2 separate regions of the Homo sapiens genome follow, and region 1 is linked to region 2. Evidence: promoter capture Hi-C in 16 types of primary human blood cells and fetal thymus (Javierre and others, 2016). All regions are on one chromosome and are shown on one strand. Each heading gives the region's core, a stretch centred on a gene start or on the middle of the fragment in contact. The rest is flanking DNA. Distances are from core to core; before and after follow the strand shown.

Region 1 (3,645 bases), core at 790-3,289, 4.4 Mb before region 2:
CTTTGACATACTTTATCTACGGGAGATATATTCTGGGAACTAGAGAGAAAGGAGAGAATGTGATTTTATTAGGTAATTTCCCGGCATCATTTGCATATGTATTGCCATAATGAGTAGGTGTGAGGATGTCGCACCTATTGTAACTGTTGTGTTGAAAACAGCGCTAGACAGGAAGGTAGCCTAGAGGTCAAGGGTTTGGTCTGCCACTTGACAGCTGTGTGACAAGTCACAATCTCTCTGGGACTTTTCTTCTTTTTTTGCTCATATTGAGTGGAGGAAGAGAGCTGGACTGATTGACACGTTAATGTTCTTTCAACCTCTGGAAAATCTATAGTTCCATGATTATGAAGCCAAAACAAAGCCAATGAGAGTAATTATGAAAACCAAAATTTAAGTTCAACTTATTTTTCTAGTCATGTCATAAATTTTTTGAACTTCCGTTTTTTATTAATGTGAGCCTCACAAAATTCTTATAAGCTAATATATTAATATATACCGGAAAGCTGCTTGTCAGCAAACAACTATTCAAATGTCACCTTAAATTTCAGCAGCAATGTTAGGTAAGACAATTCAAAATTAGATAAATTTATCAAAAATTCCTCTCCTTGAAATTTGAGGGTTTGATTCTGCAGAACTAGAATGAGATGATTATTTATAATTTATAGCACATTAACACCTATGCTATCAAAGTAGCTAAGCCGTAGACCCAAACTTCCCCTTATTCCAAACTAAAGAATTGAAGATGTCTTGAGAATAGAGAATCAAAGAGAGAGAGAAAAAAAAGACAAACTGCAGCCTGCTAATGACTGCCCAGGGAAGTTTAAGACACTAAGTCATTATAAATGCTAAAGAAAAAATTTCTTAAACCTCTACTATTGTTTCAGTGGCATTTATGAATAGGGCTATTAAAGTTAATTATTAATCTAGATTGTTTCAAGATGTAGAATTTCCAGTACCGATGAATGTTTCTAAACCTTTAATTTAGCTTTGAGTAGAATAAGTATTAAATGTGAGAGTATTTTTTTAAAGTATAAATCTACATATAATTTCAGTCATTGAAAATGATGGTTTGAAAGATTAATGTGGTTTTTTGAAAGACTGAGAAAAGATACAAAATTGTGTTCATAGTGTTATTACGATGTTATGTTTATATATAAGTGTTTATATAAACGTATACATAGAAAAAAAGCCTGGAAGGGAACAAACATTTTTAACTTTTTTATTTTGCTTTGGCCTTCCTAAATAGTGGGTTAAAAGTTATTTGTTTCCTTTTATAGCATTACATATTTTTCACATGTCTAAATTGAAGACACACACTTTTTAATAACCAGAAAAACGTTTTGAAATCATAAATCTTTATACAGATCTTTAGTCATTAATATCATTTGTGATATTTTAGGATTCTGAGGAAGATACTTGTCCCACAATGCTGTTATTAAAATGGCCTTAGAAAAGGACTACTAAAAATTTATGGCCACTTTTCCTGTATGTATCTTCTTTTTCTCTTGAAAAGCTTCCTTTGAAGTCAAAGGGATTTTGTGAACAGATGCAGAAATATGTGAAAGAGGCATTGGATTCTTAAACCAGATGCATTAGACATTTTTATGATATCTCATAACCTTTGTAGAAAAAAATTATTTTGCAAGAGTATAGTATAATGGGAAAAAATGTATATTTATCATATGAATGGTTCCATCAAAAACCAAGAAATAGCCAAGTTAGTTTTTATTAGCCTTGGCTGTGCACTTACTCCCTTAGGTGTAAAGCAAAAGTGAATGAGCCATAACAGTGCTATGTTAGAAACTCTAACTAATAAAGTGTTGTGATTCCTAAGTTGTTTTAATGGTTTTTAGTGTTTTCTTTTTTTAAAACAAAATCTTGGGTAAAAATGTTGGCATAGGGCATCTTTGCTTATCTCAGAGGATGCAGATGTAAACTCAAGTTGAAAATAAAACAGGGAGAAACAGGAATAACAGCACATCACTCCATACTCATTATGGGATGTCTACAATTTATATGAAAACGGTTTATTTTGCCAGGTGTTGCCTGACAGAAAACTGTTGAAATCTGACAAGATGAGCGTAGTCATAAAGTCAGAGGAGTTAAGATCTGACATGTTCTGTTTAAATGTTGATGGTATTAGGTAAATTTAAGCCTGTCATCATTGGCCAAACACAGAATCCATACTTCTTTAAGCACTAAGTCATGATTGTATTGTGCAAAGAGTGAAATATTGATGGTTAGTAGATTTTTGCAAAAGTATTTGTTATTCAGTTGAAGTATGATAAAGTGTCCACATTTTATTGCAGTTGAACATGTTTCATTATTAGCGGTTCCTAGTCTGGGTTTGGCCAGTATTCACATAATGTTCTTGCTGTTAACTATCGCTAAGTATAGCCATTAGATGAAGAATTACGCCTAAAAAGAAAAAAAGCGTGGTTTAAAATTTTTGACCCTGTATTTAATTCTCACAAGATTTAAATTTTTTTAATTTTAAAATAATTTTAGATTTACAGAGTTGCAAAATTAGTACAGAGAATTTCTGTATACCCTTCACCAAGCTTTGTCTTGAATAATCATAATACAGTTATCAAAATCAAGAAATTAATATTGGTACAATAATAGTAATTTAGCTACAGACTTAGTTCAAATTTCACTAGTTTTTTCACTGTCCCTTTCCTTAGTCCAAGATCAAATCCAGGGTCCCACAATGCATTTAGCTTTCATGTCTCTTCTAATGCATACATTTTCTCCTTCATGACCTTGGCACTTTTGAAGAGAACCAGTCAGTTATTTTGTAGAATGTCTCTCAGTTTAGGTTTGTCTGATTTTTCTTTGTGTTTAGACTGAGGTTATGGATTTTTGGCAAGAATACCACGAAGAGATATTGTTCATAACAAGGCCTTGAGGCAGGTATTGCCACCTTATTTCAAACGTGAAGAAATAGTCTTTGGTTAAGTAACTTGCCCAATGTCACACAATGGTGGAATTAGGATCGTAAGATTTAATGTAGGCATTTCATTCCATATTTTGCAATTAGTATTTGTTATTGTAGGTTTCTGGAATGTTAATGACATTAAATTGGCATAGTGTTCCCACTGACTTTTAGCTTTTCTCTGCCATGTATTGTTCATGCAACATGCAACATGAGCTAATCAGCATGGTATGTGTTCAAGAGCTACTACAATCATCTGGGAATTTTGCTAGTTGATTACTCTGCCAGTTTGATGAGGTTACTTCATCTCTCATGGCAAAAAAAGGTGTTGCGTGGATCCACTCTAAAGCTCCTTTTAATCTCAGTCGGTGAGTCTTATTTGTTTAAAGTGCTTTTGTGGTTGGTTGCTTTTGTGAACTGACCTAGTTTATTAAAATGATAATAATATTTAAATTCTTTGCAATATAGCTTTGAGGAGCTAATGAAAACTACTGATAGTAACTGTTGAAAATATAGAGGAAGGAAGAACTGTAGCTGAATGCTGAGGATTTATGCTAGCAGATAGTACGGCAGCCATGGCCTGGAAATGCTGAAGAGAGTGATGCTGCTGACCTCCAAATTCTTGCTCAGTATATCTTTCGAATGACTGCAAGTTACAGAAGAGCTGTCTGCAGAAGCTTCTACAACTATATGTACACACACACACACAC
Region 2 (4,000 bases), core at 555-3,054:
CAACATGGAGAAACTCTGTCTCTACTAAAAATACAAAATTAGGTCGGGTGCGGTGGCTCATGCCTGTAATCCCAGCACTTTGGGAGGCTGAGGCGGGTGGATCACGACATCTGGAGTTCGAGACCAGCCTGGCCAACATGGTGAAACCCTGTCTCTACCAAAAATACAAAAATTAGCCGGGTGTGGTGGTGCACGCCTGTAATCCCACCTACTCAGGAGGCTGAGGCAGGAGAATTGCTTGAACCCGGGAGGCGGAGGTTGCAGTGAGCTGAGATCATGCCATTGCACTCCAGCCTAGGCAACACGAGTGAACTCCATCTGAAAAAAAAAAAAATTTACATTCTGTAGTTTCCCAGAAATATATTCCAATTTCTAACAACTTATCATACTGTTGTCCAGTGCTATTTATTCAACAAGCTTTTGAGAGTTGTTGAGAGCGGGCACTGTCAACAACCAGGGATGCAAAGATGAATTTCATAAGCTCTGTGCTAGAGTATTACTACCTAGTAAAAACTAATAATTACAATAGAGTGAGCTATGAAAGCATTGAAAATGAAGCAAATATTTGTGCTTAGGAAAGCGTGGGAAGGCATCAAAGAGAGCAAAAAGGCAGTTTTGAGGTGTTATACATGGGACTGGACACCAGCAACAAAGGTGGTGAGGAAATTTTTGAACAGAAATGGGACACGGCCTCCTCTTAGAATTCAAGAGGTTGAATTGAAGGTTGTCTTTCCTTCATTGCACTTATTCCAATGTGTATGTTTAGATTTGTTTTTGTGATCATCAATGATGCTAGACTAAAAGTTCCTTGAGGACAAGTCTATATCCGATTTTCTTTACAACTGTATACTTCCCAGTGGTTACACATACAACATGTCAAATAAATGTGTTGTAAGCAAAAAGTGGGTAGGAGAGTTCTCAGAAGACTGGCTGCTCATTATTTATCCAATACTGTCAAGTGAGAGAGCCAGTGAATCTGTGAAAACAGAAGCATTGAATCTGGGAAAAGCATTCCTCTCACCAGAGGAGCATGCTCTACTGTCTGGCAGGGGATAATCCATTGAACTTCCTGTGGTCATAATTACCCATTTTTCTCCTTCCTTCTTCCCCCATTGGATGAATCATCTCTTTGCTCTTATTTCAACCTTTTAATTACTGATCCACCCTCTTTGATTACCTGACACAACAGGAATATCTTTCGTAACTTGAAAGGTCAGTTGACTGAATTTGTTTCATTTTGTTTAGTGATTATGCAGCCTTGCTCACTCTTGTGCATCTGTTGCAATGTTTTTCGTGGAAAACAAAGGTCTCATTTAGATTTCTAAATTACCTTGCTACAAAGCTGACTCTATACTAATGAAATTCCTCTAAAACAGTAGACGTAAGAAAGAATGCTTGCACTATAAGAAGAAACGAGTGTGAGGTCCTTCCGGATTTTTGCTGGGAAAAGATAAATCATTTTTTATGACTCCTGAATATGCCATCAGAATTGTTGGCCTTCAAGGTTTACCCCATTATTGTGGGCTAAAACGTATTCAAACGCTCGAAGACTAGAGACGCCTAAAGCCACCCGCCACCCCTAGTGTCCAGGAGGAGTCAGTAAACACCGAGATTGCTTCCCGCAGCACACCCAAGAAGGAATGTAATGTAATGCAGCCACCATGTTGGTTGTGGTTAAGTGCAGCAAACTGCTTGGCGTCACTTAGCCCTGCTGCGCAAGCGTGTTGAGAGTACGCTTCACTCCGCCCCTTCTCGTGCACGCGCCCGGAGCCCGCAACTCTCGCGAGAGAAGCGAGATTTATTCCTACGTACCGGGCCGTGCTGCTTATGGCGGCGCTGGAGAGGGGGCGCTGAGCTGTTGGGGTGAGTACGACCTCAGGGTCCAACTGGGGGTAGCAGAAACCCAGGGGAAGGGCTGAGAATAAGACCAAGGCTAACGAGAAGCCTTCTGAGTCAAGGTGGGCACTCGTAGAGCTCTAGGTGGGGAAGAATGCACCCCGATTCCCTGCCCTGGGCTTTTTCATACGTCTCCCGTTCAACTGCCTGGGCCTCATGTCAGGTCGCAGAGCTGAAACGAGGAGTTGAGGCCAGCCGGCTGCGCGTGGTGGTAGTGGTGGTGGTGACTAAAGTGGGGGGAGGGAGCGAAAATGGAGGCTCCGACAGCAGCCAAGATGGAGGCAGAGGGTGCGGGGCTCGGGCGCGGAGGCTGCTGGGATCTGTAGTCTGGCTGCTTCCCCATCTGCGGCTTGTCTGGGGAAACGGGAACTACATGTCCCGGCGGGCGGGGCGAGGGGGTGGTGGCGCGGTCCTTTGTGTGAGGTTGGAAGAGCCTGAGACCGAGAAGAGGGGCCTACTTTGACTCTGGACCCTGTAGTTTCCTGGCCGTTACCTGCTTGGGAATCTGACTACCAGTACCAGAGCGCAGTGCGGCAGTGGCGCCTTCTTTGTGTATAGACTGAGACCCTGCTCCATCTAGATATCTTAGGGGAAGTGTTTAAAGACACCTTTCCCCAGCCACATCTGGCACAGTAGTGTGGCGGAATTGACATCGTTACTCCAGTCACCTAGAGCAGGGTCTCAGCACCCAACCTTCCCCTCATTGTCTCCCCTTCGGCGTCTTGAGAAAGGGAACCAGTCCCTAATCTTTTAGGCACGTGGCTCCCACCCCTCTATCTTGGGGAATGGGCGTGCGCCCTGAAAGCTCAGTAGTGTCCTCCCTTCCACCTCCTGTAGTTCTCATGGTGCCAGCGCCTGGCCCACCCACATTGTGCAATGAACGGCCTGGCTTCGTCATTCTATGTAGAATGTTTTAGAGTTCCCCCGTCGGAGACAGCTTCAAATTTTTGCCATGCTATTTTATCAATACGAAATCTTAGTGCCAAGGTTCTTTTGCTTTAAGGTTTTCCCTTAGAAACACCCAGATGGCGGCCGTCTTGCTTAACTCACAGGTGAAGCAGAGAACGCTCCCTGAAACAGGCTTGAATCTGCAAAGAATATCTGAACGTTGTTGGGCAAGTTAATTTTCGTGTTTTGCACCTTAAATGAGTAAAAGAATATGGCGCTCTTTAAACAGTTGGGAGACAGGGCGGAGAGGGAGAATGCTCAAAGGCACTGTGGTAGTTAAATCTTTTTGAGAGGCTTAAATTTTCATCAGGCTGGTATGAACTGGCAGTTCTCAGCCACTGCTACTAACCTACTTTTTTAGAATGTAGGTTTCAAATTATAGCCCACAGATATAAGCTACTCTATACTAAAATGCTGAGTAATTTTCATTTTGAGTAACTAAAGGCAAACATTCTTGATATTGCATTGAGGAGCACTATAATACATACCTTGGTTTTCTTTTGGTACTAACCAATAATGGATATCCTTGGTGTGGGTAAGGAGGGGCTTTATATACTTCAGTAGGGATATACCTGAGTCATAAAACTTAGATAAATATTTGGCCTTCTTTTTGTTTCGTTTTAGCCCTGGGACTAAAATAAAAGAGAAGGTAATAGTTTGGTTTTGCAGCTGTTCTGGATGTTTACCATCGAGATGATTATTTATAGCAGCTGAGTTGAAAACTAAAGTATTTGAGGCACAGAAGATAGGTTTTCTTTTTTTGTAAGTACTGACTTAAGTGTGACCTTTAGCGAGTGTGGGTGAAAATCTGGTAAAGTCCTAGCAAATCAAAATTGAAAGCGTGAAAGCTGACGTGCAGTCTGGCTTTACCCTCTACCCTTATTTTCCCTTCTCCCCACCTGAAGACACATCGTGTAGGGCCATCGATTTTTGTTTTAAACAAACAAAATGCTAAAATATCAAATTATGCTGGAGCATTCATAACATGAAATTTAGTGTTCCAGTGTTTTTCATTGTACAGTTCAGTGGCACTAAGTCTATTGAAACTGTTGTGAGAGCCATACTTTCGACAAGGTAGTTAAAACATGGAAATTTTGGAACGATGTTCTTTTGGACAGATTTTTGAGGAGTTGAATTTCAGGACTGTATTGCAAAA

Evidence for each region. Contacts are between HindIII fragments. The CHiCAGO score rates a contact against its expected background, and 5 or more counts as called.
Region 1: a fragment that was not itself captured here is called in contact with the fragment with the promoter of CSDE1 in region 2 in 2 of 17 cell types (non-activated CD4 T cells and monocytes); the score reaches 6.2 in non-activated CD4 T cells.

Annotation. Positions count from the first base shown.
Region 1 is chr1:119,136,130-119,139,774 of GRCh38, reverse strand. The region is part of intron 1 of WARS2 (tryptophanyl tRNA synthetase 2, mitochondrial); the gene reads left to right. Among named protein-coding and RNA genes, the nearest start is that of WARS2-AS1, 2.4 kb to the left of the region's middle. The HindIII fragment of the contact is 1,048 bases long and covers 1,516-2,563 here.
Region 2 is chr1:114,755,788-114,759,787 of GRCh38, reverse strand. CSDE1 (cold shock domain containing E1) reads left to right here and starts at 1,804. Exons shown (of 20, transcript NM_001007553.3): 1 at 1,804-1,863. RefSeq lists enhancers at 1,598-1,887, 1,259-2,252, 2,088-2,407. The HindIII fragment of the contact is 3,696 bases long and covers 420-4,000 here.